Linked DNA regions of Homo sapiens: regions 2, 3, 4, 5 and 6 are each linked to region 1. The links are contacts of gene promoters, found by promoter capture Hi-C in blood cells and fetal thymus (Javierre and others, 2016). All regions are on one chromosome and are shown on one strand. The core of a region is centred on a gene start or on the middle of the fragment in contact, and the rest is flanking DNA. Distances in the headings are between cores, read along the strand shown. Region 1 holds the start of UTP6 (UTP6 small subunit processome component). Region 2 overlaps RAB11FIP4 (RAB11 family interacting protein 4). Region 3 holds the start of LOC105371725 (a long non-coding RNA gene). Region 4 overlaps RAB11FIP4 (RAB11 family interacting protein 4). Region 5 has its middle 4.1 kb from the start of MIR193A. Region 6 has its middle 5.8 kb from the start of MIR365B.

Region 1 (4,796 bases), core at 1,164-3,663:
TGGGGCACACATGTAGTCCCAGCTACTTGGGAGGCGGGGGTGGGAGCATTGCTGGAGCTCAGGAGGTTGAGGCTGCAGTGAGCTGTGGTCACACCACTGCACTCCAGCCTGGGTAATATAGTAAGACCCTGTCTCAAAACAAAACAAAAACGTAATTAGGCCGGGCATGGTGGCTCACGCCTGTCATCCCAGCTACTCGGGGGATCGCTTGAACCCAGGAGGTGGAGGTTGCAGTGAGCCGAGAGCGCACCACTGCACTCCCCATTAGGCAACAGAGAGAGGCCACCAGGCCCAGCTAATTTTTTTGTATTTTTAGTGGAGACGGGGTTTCTCCATGTTGGCCACGCTGGTCTTGAATTCCTGACCTCAGGTTATCCGTGGCCTCGGCCTCCCAAAGTGCTGTGATGACAGGTGTGAGCCACAGTGCCTGGCCAGCGAGGCTCGGTCTTAAAAAGAACAACAAAACAAAACAAAACAATATAAAGGAGGAGCGTATTTATAGTTAGTTTGATTTAAAAATTGGGCGGGCGCGTTGGCTCACGCCTGGAGTCCCAGCACTTTGGGATGCTGAGGCGGGTGGATCATGAGGTCAGGAGATTGAGACCATCCTGGCCAACATGATGAAAACCTGTATGTACGAAAAACACAAAAATTAATTGGGTGTGGTGGCACGTGCCTGTAGTCCCAGCTACTCGGGCGGCTGAGGCAGGAGAATCCTTTGAACCAGGGGAGTCGAGGTTGTGGTGAGCCGAGATCGCGCCACTGCACTCCAGCCTGGTGACAGAGCGAGACTCTGTCTCTAAATAAATAAATAAAATAAAATAAAATAAAAATCATGGTTAATTTATGAAGGTCTCTATCAAATTTACTTTGAAATGATTACAGTCTGTCATAACTTGCTGACTTCCTTGTACCTAAAGAAATTTAGCAAGTACCTTTTCTTAGTGTCATGCATTTATTAACTGAGTACTTATTATATGGTAGGCACTGCTATAAGCTGTAGAGTATCTAGCCAGTCAAAAAGGAAAAAATTCCCTGCCCATATGGAGTTTACTATCTAGTGTCATCTCCACTCTTACTGTTAACACAGCCCCAGAGATTTTACTTTTACAAATAAATTCTATCTTTGTCTTACATTCGTGATTTCCTTCCACTTCTGACATGTCTTACAGCTGAAGGATTCAAGAAATGGTGTAGCACAAGCCAACCCTCGTCTCAGTTCTGAGATGAGTGGGTAAAATGTGAAAGGAAAGAAAGAAATGCAAGGCACAGAGGTGGAACATGGTTTTGCTGAGCCCATTCTCCTTTCATAAATCACACACAGGATCCAGGTGCTAATGTGAATGTTGAAATAAGCAGATTTAGCAAGAACTGCTGCTTTGGCTTTTTTATATCCAGAACTAAAAAAGAACTGAACCATGTAGTTATCATTTGAGGTTTACTAACTATACCAGCAATATTGCCTCCAAGCTGTGTTGCCTGGTGTTTCTCTTAGAAATGCTAAGTTGCTTGGGCAATGGTTTAAGGAGGGTGTCTATACCTTAGTGATTTATTTTGGTAATTCTCAAACTTTTCAATACAAAAATCTCCTTTTCTAAAAAGAATTTATAGTGTCTGATATTCACCTAGGGACATATATTTTGAAAGCTATTGCTTACAAAGACAGGATATTGATTTAAATAATAAACAATTCTATTTTATTTATTTATTTATTTAGAGACGGAGTTTCACTCTTGTTGCCCAAGCTGGAGTGCAATGGCGCGATCTCGGCCTCCCAGGTTCAAGCGATTCTCCTGCCTCAGCCTCCCGAGTAGCTGGGATTACAGGCGCGTGCCAGCACGCCCAGTTAATTTTTTTGCATTTTTAGTAGAAACGGGGTTTCATCATGTTAGCCAGGATGGTCTCGAACTCCTGACTTCAGGTGATCTGCCCGCCTCGGCCTCCTAAACTGCTGGGATTACAGGCATGAGCCACCGCGACCGGCTTTCAAAAATGTTTAATTGTACAATATCCTCCTCCTTTGCTTTTTTTTTTGTTGTTGTTCTTGGTGTTGGGAAGTCAGGACGTGGGATGGGAGACAATATTCTGAAGAAAATGCATCTCGTGTCCCTTTCAGGCTTGAGCAGCCCACCTCTCTACACCTGGAGGCGCTTTTCCTGATGGCTGTCCAAGTCTAGCGGCGCGCGCACTTAACCCCTCCCTCCCGTCTAGCCCCGCCCCTCAACTCCTGTCCGCTAGAGTCGTCCTGCCCAAGACCAGGGCGGGTTCTCGCTGCAATCCCACAATCGGCCACAGGGAGGGGACGGTGGCTGTAGAAGCCGAAGGGCCTTCCCCTAAGTAGGAGGTGGCGGAAGCGGAAAAGGCGGGACCTAGGGAGCACGTTACGTCCGGACGCGTCGGTGGTAGGGCTGGGTCTCCGAACCTGAAACCGGGAGCTTCCTGCTCGTGTTCGCTGTTGAGAAGCTACCCGCGGGGTTGTAGACCTCGGACCTCATGGCAGAGATAATTCAGGAACGCATAGAAGATCGGCTCCCGGAATTGGAACAGCTGGAGCGCATTGGACTGTTCAGTCATGCGGAGATTAAGTGAGAGAGGGTTGGGGAGAGGGAAGAGCTGAGGCGGCCTGAGGGGAGGTTGGGAGTGTGTGGCAGGGGCTAGATGTGGGGACGCTCGACCTGTGTTTACTTTTCCTAACGTGGTGGAAGCCCATTTCTCGTTTTCGGTGATGTCCAGAATTAATTTTTCATTCGTTGCAAGGTAATCCGTCCGTCTACTTACCCATCAGACGTTTTGACAGCCCTTCATGGAGCCGGGTCTTAGGGCTGTAAAGGTGATAAACCCAGGATTCCTGCTCATTAGGAGCTAATTGGGCAGAGTGTGGTGGGGGAGACAGACAAATTAAATATTTTGATAACAGTGTACTGTAAGTTGATTGTAGTACCTTGTACTGCTGTAGGGATGGGAACAGAGTGCTGTGAGAGCCCAGGGGGAGTGGATAAATTCCTAACTAGACTTGAAGGTGGGGACCATTGAAATCAGTTTCATATGCTACTCCAGAGCCTAACTACAGCGCCTGGCACATGGTAGACATTCAGTAGCGTGTTAAAATTATGTTTAATAGTTTTTAATGGTTTCTGTGACTGTTGCTTTGTTTTGCAACGTCTGAATGTAGTAATGTGACTCAGAGCTTCAAAGTAAGCATTCGTTAATGAAACACAAAACAAAGCAGTGTGGACGCTTAGAAAGTGCTCAGTTAAGGTTAATGTTACCATTACTAAAGACACCTGTCTTGCACATCTTGCATTAAATTCTCCTAATATATATTTGTCATATGTTCATTCCTTAGCTAAGGACTCTGAATCTTCTCCCGTAAGTCCTTCGTAGTAATAAGTCTTTTAAGGCAGACGCAATTTAGATTTTTAAAAAAATTTACATGTTGAGAACTCAGAAATAAGAGGAATTTCGGAAAGAAATTTATTATTAAAATTTAAGTGACCTGAACTTGGAGTAAAAGAAGTCTTTATTAATACCAGCCAGGCGCTGTGGCTCACGCCTGTAATCCCAGCACTTTGGGAGGCCGAGGTGGGTGGATCACGAGGTCAGGAGTTCGAGACCAGCCTGGCCAATATGGTGAAACCCCGTCTCTACTAAAAATACAAAAATTAGCTGAGCGTGGTGGTGAGCGCCTGTAGTCCCAGCTACTCGGGAGTCTGAGGCAGGAGAATCGCTTGAACTCGGGAGGCCGAGGTTGTAGTGAGCCAAGATCATGCCACTGCACTCCAGCCTGGGCGACAGAGCGAGAAAAAAACAAACAAAAAAAACACCATACATAAATGGTATAAAGTTCTTAATTGTATTTGCTTTGCTGGTGGGAATGTCATTGGTTTTGGGAGTTGATTAAGATGATTTTCCTGAAAGTTTAAAAATGAACCCTTAAGAACACAAAAGTAATTGTGTAAGAGAATACTTTTTTTTTTTGAGATGGAGTCTTGCTCTGTCGCCAGGCCAGAGGGCAGTGGCGCGATCTCGGCTTACTGCAACCTCCGCCTTCCAGGTTCAAGCAATTTTCCTGCCTCAGTCTCCCGAGTAGCTGGGACTACAGGCACGCACCACCACGCCCAGCTAATTTTTGTATTTTTAGTAGAGATGCAGTTTTACCATGTTGACCAGGGTGGTCTCAGTCTCTTGACCTCTTGATCTACCCGCCTCAGCCTCCCAAAGTGCTGGGATTCCAGGCATGAGCCACTGTGTCCGGCCGATAATACTTTCTTATGAAAGATAACTCTAGGAATTTCGTATTTTGAAAAACATGTTTTAAATATATTCAAAATAAACTTAAACGTTTAATTTTTGCAGTTTTCAAGTGAAGTTTAAATGGCTTTCTCCTCAGGGCTATCATTAAGAAGGCTTCCGATCTAGAGTACAAAATCCAGAGAAGAACCCTTTTCAAGGAAGACTTTATCAATTATGTTCAAGTAAGTGTGTAATTAATAATTTCTTTCTTTTTTTCTTTTTTGTTTTTTGGTGAGATGGCATCTCACTCTGTCACCCAGGTTGGAGTGCAGTGGTGTGAATGGTGTGATCTCTGCTCACTGCAACCTCTGCCCTCCAGGCTCAAGCGATTCTCCTACCTCAGCCTCCTGGGTAGCTGGGACCATAGATGCATGCCACCATGCCTGGCTAATTTTTTGGTAGAGACTGGGTTTTGCCACATTGCCCAGGCTGATCTCAAGGGATCCACCCACCTTGGCCTCTCAAAGTGCTGGGCTTACAGGTGTGAACCACAGTGCCCGGCC
Region 2 (4,796 bases), core at 1,711-4,210, 500 kb after region 1:
ATTCAGGCACAGTAAACACCTCGAGGTGAAAAAGGGTCACGATAGCTCACACCAGGCAATCATAACCAGATGTGGGTTTTAAGGTACAGAAATTCAATTCAGTGCTAGTTAGCTTTCTTTTTCCTACTATAAAAGTAAAACTAAGTATAAAGAAAACTAAGAAAAACTAAGTATAAAGTAATTTAAATTTCTATATCAAGAACAATATTTGATAATTTTTTTGCTTTTAAAATAAAGAGCAGGCTGGGTGCGGTAGCACTTTGGGAGGCCTAGGAGGGCGGATCGCCTGAGGTCAGGAGTTCCAGACCAGCCTTGCCAACACAGTGAAACCCCGTCTCTACTAAAAATACAAAAAATTAGCTGGGTGTGGCAGCGCAAATGCCTGTAGTCCCAGCTACTTGGGAGGCAGAGGCAGGAGAATCGCTTGAACCAGGGAGGTGGAGGCTGCAGTGAGCCGAGATCACGCCACTGCACTCCAGCCTGGGCGACAGAGCGAGACTCCGTCTCAAAAAAAAAAAAAGATCAGCTGCCCTTCAAATGATTCCTGAGAGCAAGGGCAGGCCCTGAGGCTGCGTGAGCTTGGCAGGCCTATGAGTGCCACCTGCGCTGGGCTCAGGGCTCCAGCACCCAGTCATGGAGGTGGGAATCATGGAGGACCCATGTGAACGCCTCCAGACCGCCTGGGAGCCTCCCTCTGACCCTCCCCTTCTCTCCATCCTCAGGGTCCCCTCTCCTTGCCCCTGAACTGGGACAGAAGCCTCCCACCTCAGCCCCTTCTCCCCAACCCACGCTACTTCTAGGTGGGTTTGTCTAAAGGCAATAGAGCTGTGTGGCCCTCTGCTTAAACCTCTTCAACATTTTATCCCGAAACCTTTGGGATAAAATCAAGCCCTGCCACCTCCTGCCTCCAGCCTGCCTGGTCAGCCCCTCCACCCCTGCAGGTGGGCCTCTGCACAGGTAGGTCTCACCTTTGGCATACCTGTCCTTCCCTCCACCCTGGCAGACCCTGTTCCAAACTCAGCCCCGCCATCCATTTCTGAAGTCCCACTCCAGAAAGGCTTTCTCATCTCCCAGGCAGAGTGACTCTCCTATCTTCATGCCTCAGCCACACCTGCACAAGCCCGCACCCTTCCCGCAGGTCTGGTTTCCATGTCAGTCCCCCGCCCCCACCGCAGGGAAGGAATCCTATCTTACTCATCTGTATACCCTCTGGCCCCAAACATGACACAGAATCTGACCTCAAAAAATCTGTAAAAGAGTGGATCAGACAGCTGACTCAGAAAACCTAGAGGTGGTGGTAACGGTCATTTTAACAAACATATGTGACACTATGTCACGTGTCGTTTTGAGGGTTTAACATGCATTGCTAATATTATCCCCACTATACAGATGAGGAGACTGAGGCATAAAGAGGTTAAGTAACTTCTCAGAGTCACGCAGCAAGTAAGTTGCAGAGCTGGGTCTCAAACCAGATGTGTCTGACACTAGGGCCCAGCTCCCAGTCACTTCCCCAGGGCAGGGAGAGAACCTGAGAGATGGCCTGGCCTGATCTGAGGTGCAGTAGAAAAGTGGAAGTGGGGACGGGGCGGAGAGCAGGATGGGGCCAAGGCCGGCTGGGGCTGCAGGGCCTCTGACTGGGGAGGATCTGCAGTGCAGGCCGAGGAGGATGCAGGAACAGGAGTGTGTGGTCCACGGGCTGGCGGGGCGGCCAACTGGAGACAAAGAAGACTCAGCCCCACACAGCCTGGGCCTGCAGAGGATTACCTATGAGTGCCTGGCAGGAAATCGGAGCAGTCAGAGAAATGCGCACCTCCTGGGGCCATGGAATCACCATTTGAACAGGAAGTGGCGCAGATGCATAATTCTGGGCACAGTTCGCTGGCAGCCTCCCTCCCTGCCCAGTGCTGGGATGCAGTGCCCATGAGAGGGCCCCTGGCCGCCCATCCTGCAGAGCCCAGACCTACTTCTGATCTGCGCATTTCCCAACCGAGACCACCCCAGGCTCAAAGTCCCCAGCCAGAGGAAGTCTCAAATTTCAGATTTCTCCAATGTTAGATTTCTGGAACTCAGATCAGGTCACTCTCTCCCTCCTCTGACCTTCTAAGAACATGAGACCCCCACAGCAGGAAGCTAAAAAGGCAGCTTTAGAACCTGACAGACCTGGGTTCTAATCCCAGCTCCACCAGTTACTCAAGACCCTGGACAAGTCACTTCACCTCATGGAGGCTCCTGGTTGCCGTGATGACGAAAGGGATTAAGAAATACAAAGGCAGGGCCGGGCGCGGTGGCTCATGCCTGTAACCCCAGGACTTTGGGAGGCCAAGATGGGTGGATCACAAGGTCAGGAGATCGAGATCATCCTGGCCAACATGGTGAAACCCCGTTTCTACTAAAAATACAAAAAATTAGCTGGGTGTGGTGGTGCACTCCTGTAGTCCCAGCTACTTGGGAGGCTGAGGCAGGAGAATTGCTGGAACCTGGGAGGCAGAGGTTGCAGTGAGCCGAGATTGCGCCACTGCACTCCAGCCTGGGTGACAGAGCGAGACTCCATCTCAAAAAAAAAAAAGAAAGAAAGAAAGAAATACAAAGGCAGCCAGCAAGTTTTGGTGGGTCCTGGAGTCCTTGGGTCTCCATATCCTCTCTGTCCATGGAAAATCACCAGTGGCTGCAGAAGACTTTGGTCATTGCACAAGGGAGCCCCATGCCTGGGGTGTACTGGGCAGAGAAAGGGGTCAGAGGTGCAGTCCTAGGACTGAGGGCAGCGCAGTACCCATGTGGGTCATGGCTGGGCGGGGGGGCGGGGCGGTGAAGAAATGATGCAATAGCCACCATGCTCAGTCATACTCATATATCTCTATATATTCAATCTCCAACCATCACAACAGTGCCACAAATAGGGGTATGACCTCTATTTTACAGATAAGGAAACTGAGGTCCACCTATCATAATAAGCACCTTTAAAAATAATCTGGCCAGGCGCGGTGGCTCACGCCTGTAATCCCAGCACTTTGGGAGGCCAAGGCGGGTGGATCACAAGGTCAGGAGATCGAGACCATCCTGGCTAACACGGTGAAACCCCGTCTCTACTAAAAATACAAAAAAAAAATTAGCCAGGAGTGATGGTGGGCGCCTGTAGTCCCAGCTACTTGGGAGGCTGAGGCAGGAGAATGGCGTGAACCTGGGAGGCAGAGCTTGCAGTGAGTCAAGATTGCGCCACTGCACGCCAGCCTGGGCGACAAAGCAAGACTCTGTCTCAAAAATAAATAAATAAATAAATAAATAAATAAATAAATAAAAATAAATAAAATAATCTGAGCCTTCACATTTTTCAGCAAGGTCCCAGCTCTTGCCAGACCCAATGGCCTGTGTGGGAAGTGAGAAATCATAAAAAAGAGTTGATTCCATAGAGGGCAGGAATCACTGCACTGAGGTGTTGCTGCTCATCCAAAACTCATCTGAGCTACTCAGACCCTCCCAGCTCCTGAGCCCTCCCGAAAGTCACCATCTGGTCCCTGTTCCAGCCTGAGTTCTCAGTCTCCCTGCCCTCCCTGTCCTTTCACCACATGGAGACACTTGTCACTCCCTGAAAATACCAGTCCCCATCCCTGGGTCTGTGCTTAGGACTTTTGCATGACTGATACTCAGGAAGTGGTAGATGGTGGGTGGATGGATGGATGGATGGATGGATGGATGGATGGATGGATGCATGGACAGATGGGGAGGCTACGGAAGTGGGCAGAAGGGTGGATAAACAGATGGGTGGACTAAGGGGTGCGTGGCTAATGAATGGATGGGTGGATGGACTGTTGGATGGGCGGTTCACTGGACGGATGGATCAGGAGGTACATGGTTGGGTATATATGGATGGAAGGGATGATGGATGGGTAGATGGATGGGTAAGTGGATGCTTAGGTGAACCGGCAGGCAGATGGTTGGATGAATGGGTGGAGGAAGTGTGAGCAGATGGAACTCTAGGAGATAGATTTCAGCTCGTTATATGAACAAGAACTCAGCCAGAGCCCTGCCAGGTGAGAATGGGCTTGCCTTGGGAGGCAGCGCGTCCCTGTCTCTTGGCTACTGAGTGATGCAGGCACTGAATGGGAGTCTCATTGAATGACCTCTACTCCCCTTCTGGTTTTTGTTTTGGTTCAAATCAATCCTCTGTCTATCCTGTCCAGGTGCTAGCCTTAGACTGGGATCTTCCTGGGGACAGTGCCCACTGCAGGCCCATGTGTCATCAGCAAACACTTTGGAGGAAGCTGGCAATCTTCTCCGGGTTTTGCGCCTGTAAGCCCTGAGCCACAGCAACTGCAGTGTGTGTTGGACTCAAGGCCTTGGTCTCCAGGGAAGCCAGAGGTCCTTACAGCTGGAATCTGGGCTACAGCTGTATGGAGCCTGCTCCCCGTCTTGGGTCATGGGTTGTTATAGAAACCTATAAGGATTCTGGGCTGCTCTGCTCATCCTGCCCTCAAGGGCACAGAAGCTATGGACAATGGGTCCTCAGCAGTGACCTCAGGGGTGACAGGTTGCAGGGAATTGGTGACCCTAAGCTATGGCCCCTGGGGGAGTCTCCAAGAATCTGAAGATGCTGGGGCAAGCCTGGCATTTTTTTTTTTTTTTAATTAGACAGAGTCTCGCTGTGTCGCCCAGGCTGGAGTGCAGTGGCGTGATCTTGGCTCACTGCAAGCTCCACCTCCCGGGTTCATGCCATTCTCCCACCTCAGCCTCCCGAGTAACTGGGACTACAGTCGCCCACCACCATGCCCAGCTAATTTTGTTTTTGTATCTTTAGTAGA
Region 3 (4,796 bases), core at 1,048-3,547, 480 kb after region 1:
ATCTTGATTCCAGCTGACCCTGCTTTTCCACTCTGGGGTGAGTCTGGGGTGAGGGAAGGGCAGAGGGGCCGTGCCACATTCTTTCTGTGAACCTCCCTGAACCTGGTACCTAGTGGGCTCTCAGGAAAGACCTGCAAAATTTCAGTAAAGGAGGAAAGTGGCTTTTTGCCAGCCTCCTCAACATTGCAGCTGCCCCCTCCCCCCAGCCATGCCAGCCTCTGACACTGCCAGGCAATGACGTGGCTTCTGAGAATAGCAATGCCCAGGTGCCACCTGCAGGGCTGCAGGGGAGCCCACCCACCATCCTGGCTGGCATTCCGCCTCCTCTCCTCCTGCCTTTGCATCGCTGGCATTATAGGGGGCCTGTGAATGTGGGGATGAGCCAGGGCACCCTCTACCCTCCAGCCTCCCATGCTCAGGCCTACAGTCCTCTCCAAGGTCAGGGCTCTGCCTTCATTATTTCTGAAGCAAGTCAAGGGTGGAGTCGGCCACAGAGTGCTGACTGACTGATGAGGACCCTCACCTCAAGTCCACCTAGGAGGCAGGAGTGCAGGGATTTGGATTCTGTAATCCCTGTGTCCACAGCTCCCTGAGGCTGGGAGACACTGGTGGGGCGAGCTGTCCATTCCTCTGCCAGCAAAAGCCTACCTGGGACAGAGGTGGGGGTGGGGTTGTTTGATGACAGGCAGACAGATGGGGTACTGAGGGCCACTGCATGGTCCCCGAAGCACCCACGCCATGGCCCAAGCTGCAACCGGGGGCACACCCCAGGCTGTGACCTCTCTACAGCTGCTCCCACAGGGCTCTTCAAAGAGTGGCAGCCCCAGAGTAGTGGCCACAAAAGTGCCAGGCCAGCCGGGCGCAGTGGCTCATGCCTATAATCCCAGCACTTCGGGAGGCTGAGGTAGGTGGATCACCTGAGGTCAGGAGTTCGAGACCAGCCTGGCCAACATAGAGAAACCCCTGTCTCTACTAAAAATACAAAAATTAGCCAGGCGTGGTCATGTGTACCTGTAGTCCCAGCTACTCAGGGAGGCTAAGGCAGGAGAATCGTTTGAAACAGGGAGGTGGAGGTTGCAGTGAGCCGAGATTGTGCCACTGCACTCCAGCCTGGGTGACAGGGCAAGATTCCGTCTCAAAGCAAACAAAAAACAAAAAACAAAAATGGCCAGGCACACTGATGTCCTGCCCTTTAGAAAACAAGTGTGAAATTGGGCTGGGCGTGGTGCCTGGCGCCCGTAATCCCAGCACTTTGGGAGGCCAAGGTGGGCAGATCACTAGGTCAAGAGATTGAGACCATCCTGGCCAACATGGTGAAACCCCGTCTCTACTAAAAATACAAGAAAAAGTAGCTGGGCATGGTGGTGTGCACCTGTAGTCCCAGCTACTTGGGAGGCCGAGGCAGGAGAATCGCTTGAACCCGGGAGGCAGAGGTTGCGGTGAGCCAAGATGGTGCCATTGCACTCCAGCCTGGGCAACAAGAGCAAAATTCCGTCTCAAAAAAAAAAAAAAAAGGAAAAGAAAAAGAAAAAAAAGAAAACAGGTGTGAAATTATTAGAACAATGCATGCTGGTTATTACCAATACATACCATCAACCACAGGCTCAGTGATTTTTAAAATAAATAACAGCATCATTTATGTGGAGAAGTATTGCAAATGCTTGGAGTCCACGGAGGGTTCACACATAGTCTCATTTAATCCTCACAGCAAACTTAACAGTAGCTATTATTATAGTCCCCCATTTTAAATTGAGGAGACTGAGGCTCAGAGAGGGTAAGACATTTAGACAAAGTCACTGCAGTGGTAACGCTCCCCTTTTATTTTCCTTTTTTTAAATTTAAAATTTTTGCCCACCTGTAGTGGCAACTCTTGAACCCAGGTCTTACTGACCCCAGAGAGTCAGCCACTGCTCCCTGTTGCCTTCCTGGGCCAGAGACTCTCACGGGGCTGTCTGCACTAAAGTGTTCTTTCTATCCCCTGGCGCCCTGAGCATCAAAGAAGCTTTACTCACTACGTGGGGACCCCTCGCCTTGGATCACAAAGAGTCTCGACCTTCCTGGACATCAGGTAACCTTTTGCCACAGATGGTCCTCGGCCAGACACATTCCACTGACCCAGCCCGTCATTTCACAGTTGGTGAAGCGAGGTCCCAGCGGGGGGAGGGGTTTGCTCAAGGTCACGCAGGGAGCATAGCAAATAGCCACCCCATGTGGTCTTCGTGGGGAGCCTGGGCCCCAGGCAGGGGAGCTGGGGGCCGCCCCCACCCTGGGGCACACACCATGCGTGGCTGGGCAGCCCTGGGGCTCCCCCTCTGGCTCCCAGGCCAGGAGAGACGGGTTCGCCAGGCCTGGCAGGCATTGCAGAAGCAGCTGTTGTCACTGAAGCACACACAGCTGGGCCCCAGCTTGCTGCCAGGGAAATTGGTTGTTCACTGGAAGTAAAATATTGATCTTTCCTTTTTGGGGCCACTCAATTACCAGGCTTCCCCTTCTATTTCTGTTGCCTTTCTCTTTGAGCTGATTTTTTCCCCCCACTCAGTCCCCTGGGTCACATCTCTTCTAGCTCAGACCAGATGATGTTAAAAAGCTTCGTTGCCGTTGCTGTCTGATTGATTACCAGCCAGATACTCCCTGAACCCATGCCCAGCCACCCACGCCTCCCTAATTTCAAGGTCTGAAGGCCAGATGGACTCAAGCAAGCCATTTGCCTTTCTGAAATCTCAGCTGCCTCATCTGAGCAAGTGAGATAAGCCGGCTTATCTTGCCGCTGTGAAGCTGTCTGCAAGGCAAGGTGCCTAATAAACGTCAGCCATTACTCACGGGAATCAAAGCAAATGCTTAGCGAGCCTTCCTTTGTGCCAGGCACTGTTCTGAGCGCTCTATGCATATGAATTTGTTTAATCCTCGCCACCACCTGGGAAGCAGATACCATTATTATTCCCATTTTACAGGGGAGGAAACTGAGACATAGAAAGGCAAAGTCATTCAGAATTAAGGTCACACAGTTCGTAGAAGACGGCTGAACACAAGAGGCCTGGTTCCAGACTCCATGCCCTTAGCCAGTAATTATTATTTCTGCTAAAATAATTGCAATCACTATTATTATGCTGACAGGTTTAGGGGCTTGCTCTGACCAGAGAAAGAATAAATCTGTATTCTGCTCTCTTTTAATCTAGAAAAACTGGCATTGGTACTGACAACTTTTGCTTAAGAATTTGAGTATTAAAAGAAAAATTAGGCCAGGCACAGTGGCTCATACCTGTAATCCCAGCACTTTGGGAGGCCGAGATGGGTGAATCACCTGAGGTCAGGAGTTCGAGACCAGCCTGGCCAACATGGTGAAACCCCATCTCTACTAGAAATACAAAAATTAGGCAGGGTGTGGTGGTGTACACCTGTAATCCCAGCTGCTTGGGAGGCTGAGGTGGGAGAATCACTTGAACCTGGGAGGCGGAGGTTGCAGTGAGCCGAGATCGTGCCACTCTACTCCAGGCTGGACAACAGAGCGAGACTCCGCCTCAAAAAAAAAAAAAAAAATTAGCTGGGTGTGGTGGTGCGCGCCTGTAGTCCCAGCTACTGGGGAGGCTGAGGCAGGAGAATTGCTTGAACCCAGGAGGCGGGAGGTTGCAATGAGCCAAGATTGTGACTCCATCTCAAAAGAAAAAAAGAAAGAAAAATTAATTTTGAGACACTGTGCCACTAAAGCAGAGGTGGCCAGCTAGCATCTCAGATGTGGCTTGAGGACAGACTTAAAATTAGATGCCAATATTTAAAGCCAAGCAAGCCTCCTGGTTCTGGTTAAGATGGAGTAAGCACACTACAGTCTAGCTTTCCCATTGATTATAACTAAAAACCCTGACAGAAGACATAAAACAACTACACAAGGACTGTGAAAAGTGAATAGTGGAAGGTGAATTGGGGAGGAAAACAAAAACGTTAAGTAAGATGAATACGGTGGTGAGCTTGCATATTTCCTGACCTAGACTCAGGAGCCCAAATCCCAGAACTGTGCAGCAGGTGCACAGAGAAAAAGCTACGGAAGAAACTCTCTTTCTGATGAGAAGCCGGGAAAGGGGGGCCTCCTGGGAAAAATCGAGTGGGAGAAGTGCCCTGGGTCTTTTTTCTCTCCCAGCCCCCTCCCTACAAGGTAAAACCTGTCCCAAAGGTTAGGTGGTGGCAGCAGCCGTAGCAGTCACACAGGGGGACCTAAAACTCCGAGAAAGGGAAAATCTTTTACCTGGAAAAAAATGAGAAAAAGGGGCCCCTGGAAGCTGGATAGGGCGGCATCACAGAAAGAAGGGAGCTTGAGAATATGATCCCATAAAGTTGTTGTATTTGAGGTCCTAGCCTACTCCTGAGCTGCACATACATGGAACTGACCCCAAATAACCTACCAAAGACTCTGAGAACTGAACTACAGTGTAGACTGAACAGACTGGCCCCTGGAGTATGTATACTTGGGGTGGATCTGAATAGCACTGCAAAGGCTTTGAAAACTGAACTGACATTGAAACTATAATTCACAGAGGGCAGGTTGGGATCTGAGGCGTCAACCTAACTGATTTAAAAAGCAAACAAACAGACTGGGCACAGTGGCTCATGCTCGTAACCCTAAGGCTTTAGGAAGCTAAGGTAAGAGGATTGCTTAAGGCCAGGGGGTTGAGGCTGCAGTGAGCCATGATCATGCCAATGCACTCCAGCCTAGGTGACAGAGCAAGACCCTGTCTCAAAAACAAACGAATAAACAAACAAAGAAAAAACTGACATTCTTCAGAGGATTTTAACAGGCCCCAGTG
Region 4 (4,796 bases), core at 682-3,181, 450 kb after region 1:
TCAAAGGAGTCCTCTGGTCCTGCCTCCAGGGATGGGGTGGAGGGAGTGAGGAGAGGCCTGGGACACCTGAGGAGCCTCAGGAAAGGTGGACTCAGCCCGCATTCTGAGGCAACTGGATCAGATGCAGCTAAAAATCCTGGCCCTGCACACTGTGGCCCCAAGGCCTTGGACACACGTCTTAACTGCTGTCTGAGCCTCAACTTCCTCATCAGCGAAATGGGTACCACAGTACCTACTTGGCAGGGTTGGTCTGCTGGGGGTGGTTAAAGGAGATTAGCATGGGGACACTCCATCTGTCCCTTCCCTCAAGGCCTTTTGTCTGGCTCCTGCTGAGACCTGGGTCAGACTGGAAGGTTCCCTGTGTTGAGAATGCAGACTTCAGGACAGAGAGAGATGGGGTGCAGATAGAGAGAAGAGACAGAGCGGGGAGGGGAAAAGGAGAGAGAGGAAGGGAGGATAGTCAGGGACGGAGAGGGAGGCACACATGCAGACAGAGACACACACAAAGAGAGAGAGCACAGAGGCACAGAAAGGGCCAAGTTGAGAGACAGAGGGTAGGGCAGCAGGAGGGGTGTGGCCACCTGCGGGGCTGGGGGTGAGGGTGGTGGGGGTCAGGCCTGCTCCCACCCCCAGGCTGTAACAGCCTTCAAAGCTCCCGCTGGGTCTCTTATCAGTCCTAGGAGGCAGCTGGGTGACTCCTCCTCTCCTTCCCACTCTCCCTCCACCTTGTCCCGCCCCACCCCGGAGAAAGGGGAAGAAGCAGGCAGGAAGCCAGTTCCAGGGGGGACTGGGGTGGGGTGAGAGAGGGAATGGATAGTGCTTCCCCAGGTTAGGCCTGGGGACCCCTTTGAGGAGAAGGAGAGGACACAGGGCATGGCCGGAACTGGGGACCCCTGGGGAGAGGTGAGAGTGTGACCTGCTAGTTCTTGGAATCTCTGTGAGAGGTCAGCTCCTGACTCTGGAAAGGCCCTCAGTCAACGTCAGTGAACAAACAGGGACCAAGTAACTTGGTCAGGCCCAGCGCAGGGCACAGCAAGCCATGAAGCTGGTCCTCGTCCCCCAGGAGAACACAGTCGAGAACCTGTGAGGAAGGCCCTCCAAATTCCCATTCTCTACCTAAAACACGATGCTTGTTAACTAAACTCTAGTTTCTCTCTTTCCCCCAGTTCTGTGAACTTTGGCCACCCTCACCTGAGCAACTCACTATCCCTCCTTACAGCCCTCCGGAGGACAGGTTGGCCTGCATTAAGACAGGCCCCCAGGACCAGGCCACCTTTTCAACCTACCTCCCCGCACCAGTTCTTTCAAGCCTTGTTTACTCTTGCCTAGAAAAGAACAACCCTTTCGGCTTAACTTTGGAGGTGCAGGAGGATCTTCTGGTCAGTGCTCTCTCCCACTGCAATGCTCCCGCTTCCATTGGAATAGTCCCCTCCCCACCACCCCCAGGCAATAATAATCCTTTAATAAGTCTCTCCTTAGTAAATCAAGATTCCTTTTTATCTCTTCCTGACAGCTATGAAATTATTTACAATAAAAGACACATTCATAGCTAGAGTAGTAAAAATAAAAATAAACCATAGAGAAAAAGGAGGTAAATGATTAAATGGAAAGGCAGATTTTATTGATTCACCAGTCTCATTAGCTCTAAGTTTTCTGACTTACCAAAACCAAAAAGGACAGCAAGGGGATAGTTATGCTGTAACTCTTGTTATCTGATGTAAAAAGGTATCATTTCATCAGGAAGGACTTCTTTTCTGGTACAAAATCCTAAAAAGAATGTACTAGGGGCCAGCAGGGTGGCCCACGCCTGTAATTCCAGCACTTTGGGAGGCTGAGGGGGGCGGATCGCTTGAGCTCAGGAGTTCGAGACAAGCCTGGGCAACATGGTGAAAGCCCGTCTCTACAAAAAATACAAACGTTAACTGAGAGTGGTGCCGCATGTGTGTAGTCCCAGCTACCTGGGAGGCTGAGGTGGGAGGATTGCTTGAGCCTAGAAGGCTGGGCCAAGATTGTGCCACTGCACTCCAGCCTGGGTGACAGTGAGACCCTGTCTCAAAAAAAGAATATATTGGATCAAAGAGTACACAGGATGACAAATCAGCTGTAAGGTTTCCTGTAGCAATTCTAATGAAATTGAAGCAATATTCAATGAGCCGTGAGAATAAAAACAAAATGTACAACAGTAAAGACGTATTTGCAAGGAGGTAAGAGCAAACAGCGCTTTCTGACACGGAACTTGGTATTAGGATAGATAATGGAAAATCTAAAGGAATAGGGTTAACATGACCTGAAGATGCTGAAGATGACTGACTTTCTCCGATATCACATGTCAGAGCTGAGCCTCTGCCTGTAAGCCCAGGATGGCACTCTCAGCGGAGGGTGAGTGCAGCTGCCTTGGGAGCGTCAGCCCTGAAGGTGGCAAAGCTGACATTCACTGCAGCAGGTAAGGGTCCTGACATGCCTCCTGCCTGGTACCCATCTCAGAGGCCCCTTCAGCCTAGATTAAAGTTTCCCTTGAGGAGAAGGGGTCTGACCAAGAATGTTGCAAGTCACAGCACAAGACAGAAACCCCAGGCTGGGCTCGATAAGGCAGTTGTTTTGAAATATTGGTTGTAAAGTCAACCAATTATCAACACATTATCAGAGCAGACCCACTCCCTGTGGTCAAAGGAGACCTAGTTTGAGTAGGTACAGTGAGGTACCCATGTGTACAAGGCAGAGGACTGGGGAAGGGACTGAGGCAGGAACTTGAAGGGGATCCAAATATGCCACCCTGCAATACGCCACTTTGGCATAAGGATTATTTTGAGCTGAAGGCAACTGAGAAACAGCAGACACAGGATGAGCTCTCTGCCCTCCCCTTAGGTGCCTGAAAGTAGGGCATAAATTTCCATTTGTAAATGTGCCCCCCTCTCCCGTCCCATGAAAAGGAGAATAAATCCAATGGGGAGGTTATGTATCTGTATAACACATCTAAACCACCACCCCCAATCTAACACACATTTCCTAGCTACCTTCCCAGAATATACTGCCCTTAGGAGCCCAAATCCCCCTCTTCCTTGTTTAGTTACTTGCCCACAACTTATCTTCCTTTGTCAAAATTGTATATAAACCCTGGGTCTGACCATCTCTTTGGCTTTTCATGCATGTAAAATTAAAAACAACAATAAAATTCGTATGCCTTTTTTCTATTAATCTGTCTTTGCTCAATTTTATTTGCAGACTGCAGACATAACATAAAAGGGTAGAGGAGAAGTTTTTCCTCCCCTACAGACTTGTTCAGACAGGAGACCAGAGACTGGAGACCAGTCCTCTTCCTGCCTGTTCCCACTGTGGTGCTAATCGTCAGTTCACCTGGCACCTCCACTGCCTCCCTAGAGCCCACAGACAGTTTCCATCTTTTTTTTTGAGAAGGAGTCTTGTTCTGTTGCCCAGGCTGGAGTGCAGTGGTACAATCTTGGCTCACTGAAACCTCTGCCTCCTGGGTTCAAGCGATTTTCCTGCCTCAGCCACCCGAGTAGCTGGGACTACAGGCAGGAACCACCGGGCCTGATTAATTTTTGTATTTTTAGTAGAGACGGGGTTTCACCATGTTGGCCAGGATGGTCTTGAAGTCCTGACCTCAAGCGATCCACCTGCCTCGGCCTCCCAAAGTGCTGGGATTACAGGCATGAGCCATGGCCGCCTGACTGAGTTTCCATCTTAAGAATCAGACTTAGGCAAGGCACAGTGGCTCATGCCTGTAATCCCAGTGCTTTGGGAGGCTAAGGTGGGCAGATTGCTTGAGGTCATGGGTTCGAGAACAACCTGGCCAACATGGTGAAACTCCATCTCTATTAAAAATACAAAAATTAGTTGGGCGTGGTGGCACATACCTGTAGTCCCAGCTACTCGGGAGGCTGAGGCAGGAGAATCGCTTGAACCCAGGAGGCGGAGGTTGCAGTGAGCTGAGATCGCACCACTGCACTCCAGCCTGGGTGACAGAACGAGACTCCATCTCAAAAAGAAAAGAATCAGACTTTATGCTCTGTCTTCTATGACAGCCATTTTCATTTTCCTGGTCAGGAAATGGAATGTAGCAATGATCTGGTTGAGAACAGCTGTTTAATCTCTCTAATACAATGTTGGAGCATTTGCCCTCTGGCTCGGCAGGTGTGGTTTTCATGTGATCAGGCCAGTCTCTGCCCTGGGAGAATGGTCTGACAAAGGGGTGGGCTCAATTCTTGAGAATGCCCAGGGGCTGACTTTTCTAGCTAGTGCTAGAGCAGCAGGTGGCTGTGGGTGGGGCTGGGGGGGATGCGGTTGTGGGAGGAGGACTGGGCCCCAGGCCTTGCTATCAGCACCTGGTCACCACCCCTGAGTCAAAAGATATTCAATGGACCATGATATGTCTCACAATCTATGCATTGTGAGTTGAGAAATGCCAGTATTTTCCACAGTGCGGAGAGCCTTCCATGCACTTTCTTTTCTTTTCTTTCTTTTTTTTTTTTTTTTTTTTTGAGACGAGTCTTGTGCCCAGGCTGGAGTGCAGTGGTGCGATCTCAGCTCAAGTGATTCTCCTGCCTCAGCCTCCCTAGTAGTTGGGACTACAGGCATGCACCACCACGCCCAGCTAATTTTTGTATTTTTAGCAGAGACAGCATTTCACCATGTTGGCCAGGCTGGTCTCGAACTCCTGACCTCATGTAATTCACCTGCCTTGACCTCCTACTTCCATGCACTTTCATGTTTCATTTTGACAACGACCCTGGGAGGAAGACACGAGTTACAACCTCCATCTAGCAAGTGAAGAAAGT
Region 5 (4,796 bases), core at 968-3,467, 350 kb after region 1:
TAAAGAAAATAACGTGACATATCTGTTTGTGTCCCGACATAGATATTAGCTATGTTCCTGCCTTCTCTTTCCTGGCCTCACCAACCCAGATCATGCCTTTAAATCTCACTATGAGGCTGGGCACGGTGGCGCACACCTGTAATCCCAGCACTTTGGGAGGCCAAGGCAGGATTGCTTGAGCCCAGGAGTTTGAGACCAGCCTGGGAACATAGTGAGACTCTGTCTTTACAAAAAGTTAAAAAAAAAAAAAAAATTAGCTGGGCGTGGTGGCACACACCTGAGGTGGGAGGATCGCTGAAGCCCAGGAGTTAGAGGCTACAGTGAATTATGATCGCACCACGGCACTCCAGCCTGCGTGACAGAGGGAGACCCTGTCTCTAAACTTCACTTTGGTAAGGGTTGAGTGGTATATCTGGTTTATCTGATCCCCACATCGGGATCCCTGGGTAGGACATGTCCAGGAGCTGGTGCTCCCAGGAGTGCGTAGCTGGGGGAGGGATGGCGGCCAAGCGCTGGCAGAGATGCCCAGTGCTGGGGCATGGACAGCGCTGGCCCCAGGCCTCTGTAATCGCCATTTTGTGGGAGCGCAGGATTAGAAGGGAAGAAAGAAGATGCCCTGACGTTGCTGGAGATGCAGCCGGGGCTGGAGGGGGTCTGGAGTTAGTGTTCTGCTTTCTCTTCCCCTTTTATTGCTCGCTCCAAATCTGACAAACCCTTAGGATCTCTGAGACTCAGGAGCCGGGAGGAGCCGGTGTCCTGGGGGGATGAAAGGGCAGGGTTGTAATGGGTTTACCCCGGTGCTGATCCCAGAGAAGCTCGAAGAAGATTAAGATTTGCTCCCTGGGCCTGAAATCTCCCTGCTACCCCCTGACCACATCAAAGGACACGGCCGTGGGGGGTGCCTAATCCCATCAATGGAATCAAAGCTGGACAAGAAAGGAAATTCTTCGATCTTGGGGCAGCAGCAGGATGCAGCTCACTACAGAAAGGCAGATCGAGGTCCTGGCCTTTTCCACTGGCGGGAACATCCCAAGAAAGATCCAGTCCACAGGCAGATAGGGCCTGCCCTTTTCTTCCTGAGGTGGCCACTGCGGGAAGGTCAACCACAAGAACTTGGGATACCCAGCAGCAGGACTGGGCCTGCCTCCAGGGGCAGAGAAGGACCCCGGGGGCAGGGGGTGGGGGCTCACCCAACATCCCAACATCATACAGCTTTTCTGGCTCCCAGCTTGACTTCTGGAAGGGGCTTTTGCATGTGACACTCCTTGCCACCAGCGTTTCCCAAAAGGTGGTGCTCATATGAGAGATGGTTTTAGATGGAAAAAAATGTAATATGTAGTATTAAATATAAATTTTCTGAATATTGCTGTTACAATGAGGCAAAAATGGTTAAAGTGAGCCAACTCAAAGACAAGAATTTAGTAAATAATGTTATAGGTAGTATTCTGATATGACAACAATAATGGCAGTGGTATGCAAATGCAAATTACTAAAGTTAGAAAAATAGACCAGGCGCAGTGGCTCAGGCTTGTAAGCCACAAGCACTTTGGGAGGCCAAGGCAGGCAGATTGCTTGAGCTCAGGAGTTCAAGACCAGTCTAGGCAACCTGACGAAACCATGTCTCTACAAAAACAAAAACAAACAAAAAAAATTAGCTAAGCGTGGTGCCGCGCACCTGTAGTCTCAGCTACTCGGGAGGCTGAGGTGGGAGGATCACTTGAGCTCAGGAGGTTGAGGCTGCAGTGAGCTGTGATCATACCACTGCACCCTAGCTTGAGCAACAGAGTGAGACCCTGTCTCAAAAATTAAAAAAAAAAAAAAAGAAAAGAAAGAAAAACACTCCTTTCAATCATCTTTAGAGAAATGTTGCCTTAGAACAGTAGCTTTCAAACTCAGTCATGCCCCATGATAGGAAATACCTGTGTGTGTACGTATGTATATATGTGTATGTATCTATGTACATGTGTAAAACAAATGTTTTATGAAACAATTCTTATGCACTCAAATATATATTCTGTGTTACCGTTTCATTTTTAGAATGCTGTTTACAAGCTGTTAAATTGGTTTCACTTAACAGGGTTACCTCCTGCTGTTTGAGAACTTCAAGAACATACCATGATGATGATGATATTAACATCTCTCTGTTATTTTTATTTATTTATTTATTTATTTATTTGAGACAGAGCCTCACTGTGTTGCCCAGACTGGAGTGCATTGGCGTAATCTCGGCTCACTGCAACCTCCGCCTCCCAGGTTCCTGCCTCAGGCTCCCTAGTAGCTGGGATTACAGGCGCCCGCCACCATGCCCAGCTAATTTTTGTATTTTTGGTAGAGACGGGGTTTCACCATGTTAGTGAAACCTGACCTCGGGTGATCCTCCTGCCTCAGCCTCCCTAAGTGCTGGAATTACAGGTGTAAGCCACTGCACCCGGCCCAGAAAGAGTTCTGAGAGAAGACATACGCATCCTGGGGACCAGAGGGAGAAAAGGGCTGGTGATAACCTGAAGTACTTTGTAGGTGACTATGGAATTTGTGAGGGTGATTTTCTCAGCATATTCTGCTTAGATGGCAATGCACCTGGGTTTTGTTTCTCTCGGCCCAAATGATCTGGACCAAGGGAGAGCCCCAGAATCAGGGGAAAGGCAAGCAGGAAGGGAAATCTTTACTGCAGAAAAACTACTCTGGCATTACCAGACTTGTCACTGCTTATGGCCTGTTTCGATTCCTCACCTTCTCTGCAACCTTCTGAGAGTTATTTCCTGCCTCTGAAGTTCAGTTTCCTCATCAGCAAAATTGGGACGTGATTTTTTTCTCTGTGATTTCTCCCAACTTGATTGTTCCATTACTGGAGGATGAGAAGTTGAGTTTTCTTTTTCTGACCTTCATTCATTCAGCCAACAAATGAAGAGCCTCATTTTATATACCAGGGGAAGAGAAGACAGGACGCTTGCCCTCAAGCAGCAGCAGAGGGGTAAATTCCCCAGAAAGGAATCCATTGTCTCCAGGTGTTGTCATATTTCAGCAATGCCATGGCTGTGCTTTCAGCTGAATTCAGTTTTCCTGGATGATGGGGTCTGGGGAGGAGGCAGGTGACCTGAGGCTCCCTACCCAGGCTGGCCTTCTGCACGTGATGCTGAGGATGACTCCTGGGAAGTGAGGTCACACAGTGATCCCTACTGGCCCCAGGTCCCAGCCCTCTTACTCAGTGTTCTTTGAAATGCTTTCAGTAGCCAAAGCCCATGTCTGGAAAATATTAGAGCCCTTGATCCAGAAGTTAAGCCTTTGGCCTATGAGCTTTATCTTTGCCCTCACTCTCTGTGACTGAATTGATTCTTGTCTTTAAGTTCCCACTCTGTGTGTGATGGTCACTGTGCCATGTTACCCCTTCAAGAAAGGGTTTGTCCCAGCTGCTTGGAGTGCTGTCAACAGACTGTCTTCTGCCATTAGAGCCGCCTAGTCTAAGCTCTCTGGACAGCCCACATCCAGTGAGTGGTGGGGGAGGGGGGCTCTCCCTCATTTCACACCTGCTTCCCACCCTTTCCCAGGTGGAATAAGCATTCTGCACATTAAGCTCTGTCTAGGGGTCTGCCTTCTGGGGATTCCAACCTTTGACAGTGTATATCTGTGTCCCTCTCTTGCCCCTAAAGCCTTAATATTGTAATCAAGTATAGTGATTTTGGTCACCATCTGCTGTTCCTATCGATCAGGCATGAGTGTTTGACAAGTGAGGTGCCAGTTTGGCCTACAGGCTGGCAAAGAGATAGACCATCTCCTGGGTGCATGTCAAGTTAATAATGAAGATGACTTTTCCTAGAAGATTTGAGCTCATGCTGTAGACAAGCATAATATCTATGATAAAAGTAGAGCTTTCTGGGTGACCTAGAACAATCACTTTCCTTCTCTTTGCCTGTTTCTGCAGTGTGAAATGAGAGGGTTGGCTGGTTTCATTTCTATCAGTGTATTATTCCAAATTGGTAAATTTGTCCCCAAGTATGGGGTTAGACCTTTGGGGTTTGCTAATAAAACCATCTACAGGGAATGAGAATTTGTTTCTTAATTCAAAAATTGATTTTACCTGCAGGTTAGAGAGGCCACTGCGGAAAGAAAAGAACCCCTGCCTGCTTAGATGCAACCTAGATCATGATATTTGAGTGTCAAAGATGACTGAATGAGGGCAGAGATACCCAAGACCTGGTTGTGCTCTGGTGAGTTCGTATTCATCCTGCAGAGCCCAGCCACAATGTCACTCCTCAGGGAAGTCTTCCTTAGCCCTTCAGGTCAGGACCTTCCTTGTGCCAAGGCTCTGTCTCTGTTCCAGCTGCTGGAAACACAGACATGAGTGAGACACCATCCAAGTCCTAAGGGGCTTCCAAGTATGGTGTGAGACACACAGAGGGGTCCCAGACAAGAAACTGAGGGACTCCTTACCTGGGGGAATCAGAGGCTTCTCAGAGGAGGTAATACCAGAGTCTCGCCACAGGCAACCAACCTGACTCCGATCCAGCGTCTGGATCTAACTGCCAATTTGATTTGCAGGAAGTACTGAGGACTGAGGAGCTTACTGGGTTGCACCAAGAGTTTGCAGTAAGCAAGATCTAGACTGTGGGAAACCCTCCAGGTGCAGTGGCCCAGGGTCCTCAACAGACACACTGCCAGGAAATGAAAGGGAAGGAAGGGGTACCTCCTGATTGAAAAAAAAAGCTTCTATCCATTTTTTTAAATGAGCAAAGTTAAACTATAGTGTACAAAGATGTCGCGATGCTCAATTAGGTGATAAACTAAAATGCAAGGAAGTG
Region 6 (4,796 bases), core at 1,130-3,629, 320 kb after region 1:
TCACTTGAAGCCAGGAGTTTGAGACCAGCCTGAGCAACACAGCAAGACCGCATCACTAGAAAAAAAAAAAATTAATTAGCCGGGTGTGGTGGCATGTGCCTGTGGTCCCAGCTACTCAGGAGGCTGAGACAGGAGGATTGCTTGAGCCCAGGAGTTTGAGGTTGCAGTGAGCTATGATTGCACCACTGCACTCCAGCCTGAATGACAGAGCAAGACCCTGTCTCTAAAAAAAGAAAAGAAAAAAGAAAAGGAAAAAGAAAAAGGAAAGGAAGGAAGGAAGAAAAGAAAAGAAAAAAGAAAAGAAATGTATTGGCTCACAAAATCAGGTTAGTCCAGGCTGCAGCTGGTTTCAGGCATGGCTGGATCCAGGGGCTCACTGATGTCTGGATCCATACTCTCCATCTCTTTGTTTTGTTTGTTTGTTTTGAGATGGAGTCTTGCTCTGTCGCCCAGGCTGGAGTGCAGTGGCATAATCTCAGCTCACTGCAAGCTCCGCCTCCTGGGTTCATGCCATTCTTCTGCCTCAGCCTCCCAAGTAGCTGGGATTACAGGCACCCGCCACCATGCCCAGCTAATTTTTTTGTATTTTTAGTAGAGATGGGGTTTCACTGAGTTAGCCAGGATGGTCTCGATCTCCTGACCTTGTGATCCGCCCACCTGGGCCTCCCAAAGTGCTGGGATTACAAGCCACGGTGCCTGGCCTCATCTCTTCATTTTCTTTCCTCTTTGTTGGCTTTGTCAAGTTGAGGACAGGATGGCCACCAGCAGTTCCCAGCCTACATCCTATCAATACAGCAACTCCCTCAGAAAAAGAATGCTTCTTTCCCCATAACTGCTGCAGATGTCCCATGGCAGAGTCTCAGGACTTGGCCTCCAGGCCTGGAACACATGCCAGTGTCTAAAGCCAGGGTTTGGGGTTGGCCACACCAGAACCCCAGAGATACAGGGTAGGGGAGAAGTGATCTCCTGAAGTTATTAACAGAAAAAAGAGGTATTAAAAGAGGTATTATCAGAAGGGGGCATGGAAAGCCAACAGATGGCCACCTCATACCCAGGGAGTAGTGTCAGCATACACCCCTACCTCCAGACAATTCCACATTGGCCAGACTATCAGGGACAGACCTCAAACCCACGCGGGCCCAAGGCTGCTTTTCCGTGACATCACAAACTCTGCCTATTAGCTACAAGAATCAAAACAGAAAGTAAGCACTAATTGCTTCCCCACCAGTCCAGCCAAACAGAAAGCCCTTCCTGCCTGTGCTGGGCTGTCTGCACCCCAAGGAAGCTGGCAGGGGAGGGAGCAGTTCCACATCAGCCACTCTGGCCCAGGCCCAGCAGGAGTGCCTCGGAGCTGACGGAGTCCGGGCTTATAGGACAAACCCCCTAGAGGGGAAGATGCCTCTGTGGGCGCTGGGCCTCAGCAATCTAGACCTGATGGGAATCCAGAGCAAAGAGGTAAAGCTTCAGTTTTCCAGTCCAGAGCCACTGTCCCAATACTTCACCCAGGGAGGAGACTGTCAGGAAAGGTTGTCCTTGCAGGGTCAAGGATGGAAGGCACCATCCTCAGGCTGTGACCCAAACTTCATTTCCTGAGCCGTGTGGGGCAACCACCATTCACTGGGCATCTTCCCCATGCCAGGCATCACTGAGTTCTCTGCTGAAGTGTACTCCTGGCCGGGAAGGGAAAGGCAGCCACAATTTCTTGTATCTATTTGGAAGAAGCCTAGAAAGTACCCACATTCCTACAGGGAACTATGGCACCCATCAAACAAATGAGGCAACAGGCTCAGCAGGGAGCTTTACCCCAGGTTCTCAGCTCAGTGACCGCCTTGATCAGACTCCCAGGCAAAGGCTCGTCCCAGCCCAACTCCAGGAGGTCAAAGCGCTTGTCTCAGCCTTGTCCAGCGGCTAGGCTGCTGACTGAGCTGAGGGCACTTCTGATCCAGGAAGCAGGAAGCCAAGGCAGCTTAGGGCTATCTTCCAACCCAGCTCCCCAGGGAACCTGGGCAAGAAAAGCCTGAGCTGATGCCCACTGCCCCATCTCCCACTAAGGTGCTGGCTGAATCTGCCTGTACAGCCATGCTGCTTTCTGGGAAGCAGGTTTAATGGACATCGCTGCCAAGAGTGTACACTCTGCTGCAAAGTGCTGGGCCGGGGGACGGTGAGAGCCAGACTGAGGAGGGAGAGGGCCAATGCCAAGCAAGGAAGGAGCGGAGGAGTACACGGGGCCCTCCCTTCCAAAGGAAGCCCGAGGGCTGGCCCAGAGCCACTGGGCTCCGGGAAAATGGTGTTCTGAGCTCCCAGATTCTATCTCTACCCTCCACGAGCAAGGCAGGCTGGTCCTCCGGCTCTGCAGACCTGCCAGGGAACAGCTGACCACTTCCTGGAGCCGACAATGCACCCATCGTTAGCTCCCTGCGCTGGCTGCCTGCCCAGCCTGCCCGCAGGCCAGGCCTCTGGAGCTGAGCTGGGCAGGAAGGAGAGAGGGGCAGGGACAGTCTGCTAGAGACCTGGGCACCCCCAGTAGAGCTCTGTCCCTGAGGACTCAGACAAGCAAGCCCCATGCAGGGCTGTGTTCCTTCCTAGATGCCTCTGTCCAGGCAAGGAGAGCTGGGTGACATGGGCCAAGCCTCTTGAGTGTTCTGAGCCTGTTCCTCATGTGTAAAATGGGGCCAAATCTCACCGTGCCCACAGCTGGGATTAGTGCAACAGGGCAGGCTGCGGGCAGCTGTGGGTCCAGGCTGGCTGGCAGGGGACACAGAGCATTGGGAAACTAGGGGATGATGACTCACCCTGCTGGGGCAGCCCCTACCCACGCCTCAGCATACTGTGATGACCAAGTGTCCAATTATTATTAAGCACAAGAATATGCTTCTTATGATCCATATGCTCATCATGAATACTAATGACTAGTACTACTGAAACAGCACTAATCTGGAGGGTCAGAAGTTGTGTATTTTACATCTCATCTCTGCCATATTCTGTGTCTTCAGATAAGTCCCCCGATCCCCTTAGCCTCAGTTTTCTGCTTGCAAAATGAGGATCAAAAGATGACTGAGCAGCAGAGACAGTAACGGAAATGAAAGTTGGCCAACTGCAAATGGTCACATCCCTTGATCGGGCTCTGAAGGCAAAGCTGGAGGAAACCTCTTCCATCTCTAGCTTGTGGGCATTTAACCCAACAGTTCTCCTCTGATTGCTTAAGAGACTCACCTGAGGAACATAAGAAAAAAAAAAATAATAACTGGTCAGGTGTGGTGGCTCATGCCTATAATCCCAGCATTTTGGGAAGCTTGAGCCCAGGACTTCAAGACCAGCCTGGGCAACATAGTGAGACCTCGTCTCTACAAAAAAAATTTTTTAAATGGCCAGGCACTGGGCGTGGTGGCTCATGCCTGTCATCCCAGCACTTTGGGAGGCTGAGGCGGGCAGATCACTTGAGGCCAGGAGTTTGAGACCAGCCTGGCCAACATGGTGAAACCCTGTCTCTACTAAAAATACAAAAGTTAGCCGCACGAGGTGGTGGGCACCTGTAATCCCAGCTACTCGGGAGGCTGAGGAAGGAGAATCACTTGAACCCAGGAAGCAGAGGTTGCCATGAGACGAGATCGCACCACTGCACTCCAGCCTGTGCCACAGAGCAAGACTCTGTCTCAAAAACAAAAACAAAAACAAAAACAACCACCAGCCAGGCGCGGTGGCACACACCACACGCTACTTGGGAGGCTGTGGGAGAATCACTTGCACCCCGGAGATTGAGGCTGCAGTGACCCAAGATCGAGCCACTGCACTCCAACCTGGGAGACAGAGAGAGACCCTGTGTTAAAAAAACAAACAACAAATAAAAAACAACAAACAAAAACAAAGATACCAGTCTTTGGGCCCTTTCATTCCCCAGCAATTCAGATCCAATGGGTCCTGCATGGGACCAGGCATTGGCATGTTTTTAATGCTCTCAAGTGATTCTTCTGTGCAGCCAGGTCAAGAAGCAATGCAGCCGCCCACTTATAAATCAGACGGGATAAAGCCCTCTTGTCCGGCATCCTCACTGACAATTTCATCAATCCTGGTTTAGAGAGACCTGGTGCTGCTCAAACACCCTCCAGCAAGATCACTGAGCTTCCTGGCCAGAGGCCAGCAGCGGCCCACAGCATATCCTGCTTGGTAAAAAGAAAATAAAGGCTTTCTGGCCTGAGGGCACAGGGCCATTGCTCAAATGAGTTATGAGCCTGACCCTTTTAAAAGTCCCAATCCTGCTAACTGGGTGGGGAAGTACAGGCATGAGTTAAAAAGGCTGGAAAGATAGATTTAATTAGCAGACATTATCTCTAGGTATGGGCATTTATAAGCCCTTTCCATCTCTTTTTGTTTTGTTTTGTTTTGTTTTTTGGAGGCAGGGTCTGGCTCTGTCGCCAAGGCTGGAGTGCCATGCAGCGATTTTGGCTCGCTGCAACCACCACCTCGCGAGTTCAAACAATCCTCTCACCTCAGCCTCCTGAGAAGCTGGGACTACAGGCATGCACCACCACACCCAGCTAATTTTTGTATTTTTTGTAGCGACGGCGTTTTCGCCATGTTGCCCAGGCTGGTCTCAAACTCCTGAACTCAAGTGATCAGCCCACCTAGGCCTCCCAGAGTGCTGGGATTATAGGTATGAGCCACCAAGCCTGGCCCCTTTGTATTTTTCAAATGCCCTATAGTAGAAGGCAATTATTTTATAATTGGGAAAAAACAGTAATCAGTTTTATGTTTGATATATTGCCTCTTTTAAAAAGTTGACGTAGGCTGGGCGCCGT

Evidence for each region. The method cuts DNA at HindIII sites, captures the fragments that hold promoters and counts their contacts. A CHiCAGO score of 5 or more calls a contact.
Region 2: a fragment that was not itself captured here is called in contact with the fragment with the promoter of UTP6 in region 1 in 1 of 17 cell types (endothelial precursors); the score reaches 6.0 in endothelial precursors.
Region 3: a fragment that was not itself captured here is called in contact with the fragment with the promoter of UTP6 in region 1 in 4 of 17 cell types (M2 macrophages, M1 macrophages, M0 macrophages and 1 more); the score reaches 9.0 in M2 macrophages.
Region 4: a contact is called between a fragment that was not itself captured here and the fragment with the promoter of UTP6 in region 1, in 2 of 17 cell types (neutrophils and endothelial precursors). The highest score is 5.5, in neutrophils.
Region 5: a fragment that was not itself captured here is called in contact with the fragment with the promoter of UTP6 in region 1 in 4 of 17 cell types (M0 macrophages, neutrophils, endothelial precursors and 1 more); the score reaches 9.1 in M0 macrophages.
Region 6: a fragment that was not itself captured here is called in contact with the fragment with the promoter of UTP6 in region 1 in 2 of 17 cell types (M0 macrophages and M2 macrophages); the score reaches 7.1 in M0 macrophages.

Annotation. Positions count from the first base shown.
Region 1 is chr17:31,899,325-31,904,120 of GRCh38, reverse strand. It overlaps UTP6 (UTP6 small subunit processome component), which reads left to right and starts at 2,413. Exons shown (of 19, transcript NM_018428.3): 1 at 2,413-2,585; 2 at 4,391-4,475. The coding sequence starts at 2,494. RefSeq lists enhancers at 2,419-2,468, 2,154-2,745, 2,789-2,938. The HindIII fragment of the contact is 12,725 bases long and covers 1-4,796 here.
Region 2 is chr17:31,401,099-31,405,894 of GRCh38, reverse strand. All of the region lies in intron 1 of RAB11FIP4 (RAB11 family interacting protein 4), which reads right to left. Among named protein-coding and RNA genes, the nearest start is that of RAB11FIP4, 12 kb to the right of the region's middle. The HindIII fragment of the contact is 8,648 bases long and covers 1-4,796 here.
Region 3 is chr17:31,423,318-31,428,113 of GRCh38, reverse strand. The region is part of intron 1 of RAB11FIP4 (RAB11 family interacting protein 4); the gene reads right to left. It overlaps LOC105371725 (a long non-coding RNA gene), which reads left to right and starts at 1,998. Exons shown (of 2, transcript XR_934661.3): 1 at 1,998-2,068; 2 at 2,564-2,830. RefSeq lists a silencer at 2,597-2,797 and an enhancer at 2,468-3,195. The HindIII fragment of the contact is 585 bases long and covers 2,005-2,589 here.
Region 4 is chr17:31,453,496-31,458,291 of GRCh38, reverse strand. All of the region lies in intron 3 of RAB11FIP4 (RAB11 family interacting protein 4), which reads right to left. Among named protein-coding and RNA genes, the nearest start is that of RAB11FIP4, 64 kb to the right of the region's middle. RefSeq lists enhancers at 1-245, 246-1,094, 3,086-3,585, 3,586-4,087. The HindIII fragment of the contact is 6,740 bases long and covers 1-4,796 here.
Region 5 is chr17:31,553,494-31,558,289 of GRCh38, reverse strand. No RefSeq gene overlaps it. Among named protein-coding and RNA genes, the nearest start is that of MIR193A, 4.1 kb to the left of the region's middle. RefSeq lists an enhancer at 615-1,239. The HindIII fragment of the contact is 4,973 bases long and covers 1-4,703 here.
Region 6 is chr17:31,578,795-31,583,590 of GRCh38, reverse strand. No RefSeq gene overlaps it. Among named protein-coding and RNA genes, the nearest start is that of MIR365B, 5.8 kb to the right of the region's middle. RefSeq lists an enhancer at 2,820-2,869. The HindIII fragment of the contact is 1,831 bases long and covers 1,464-3,294 here.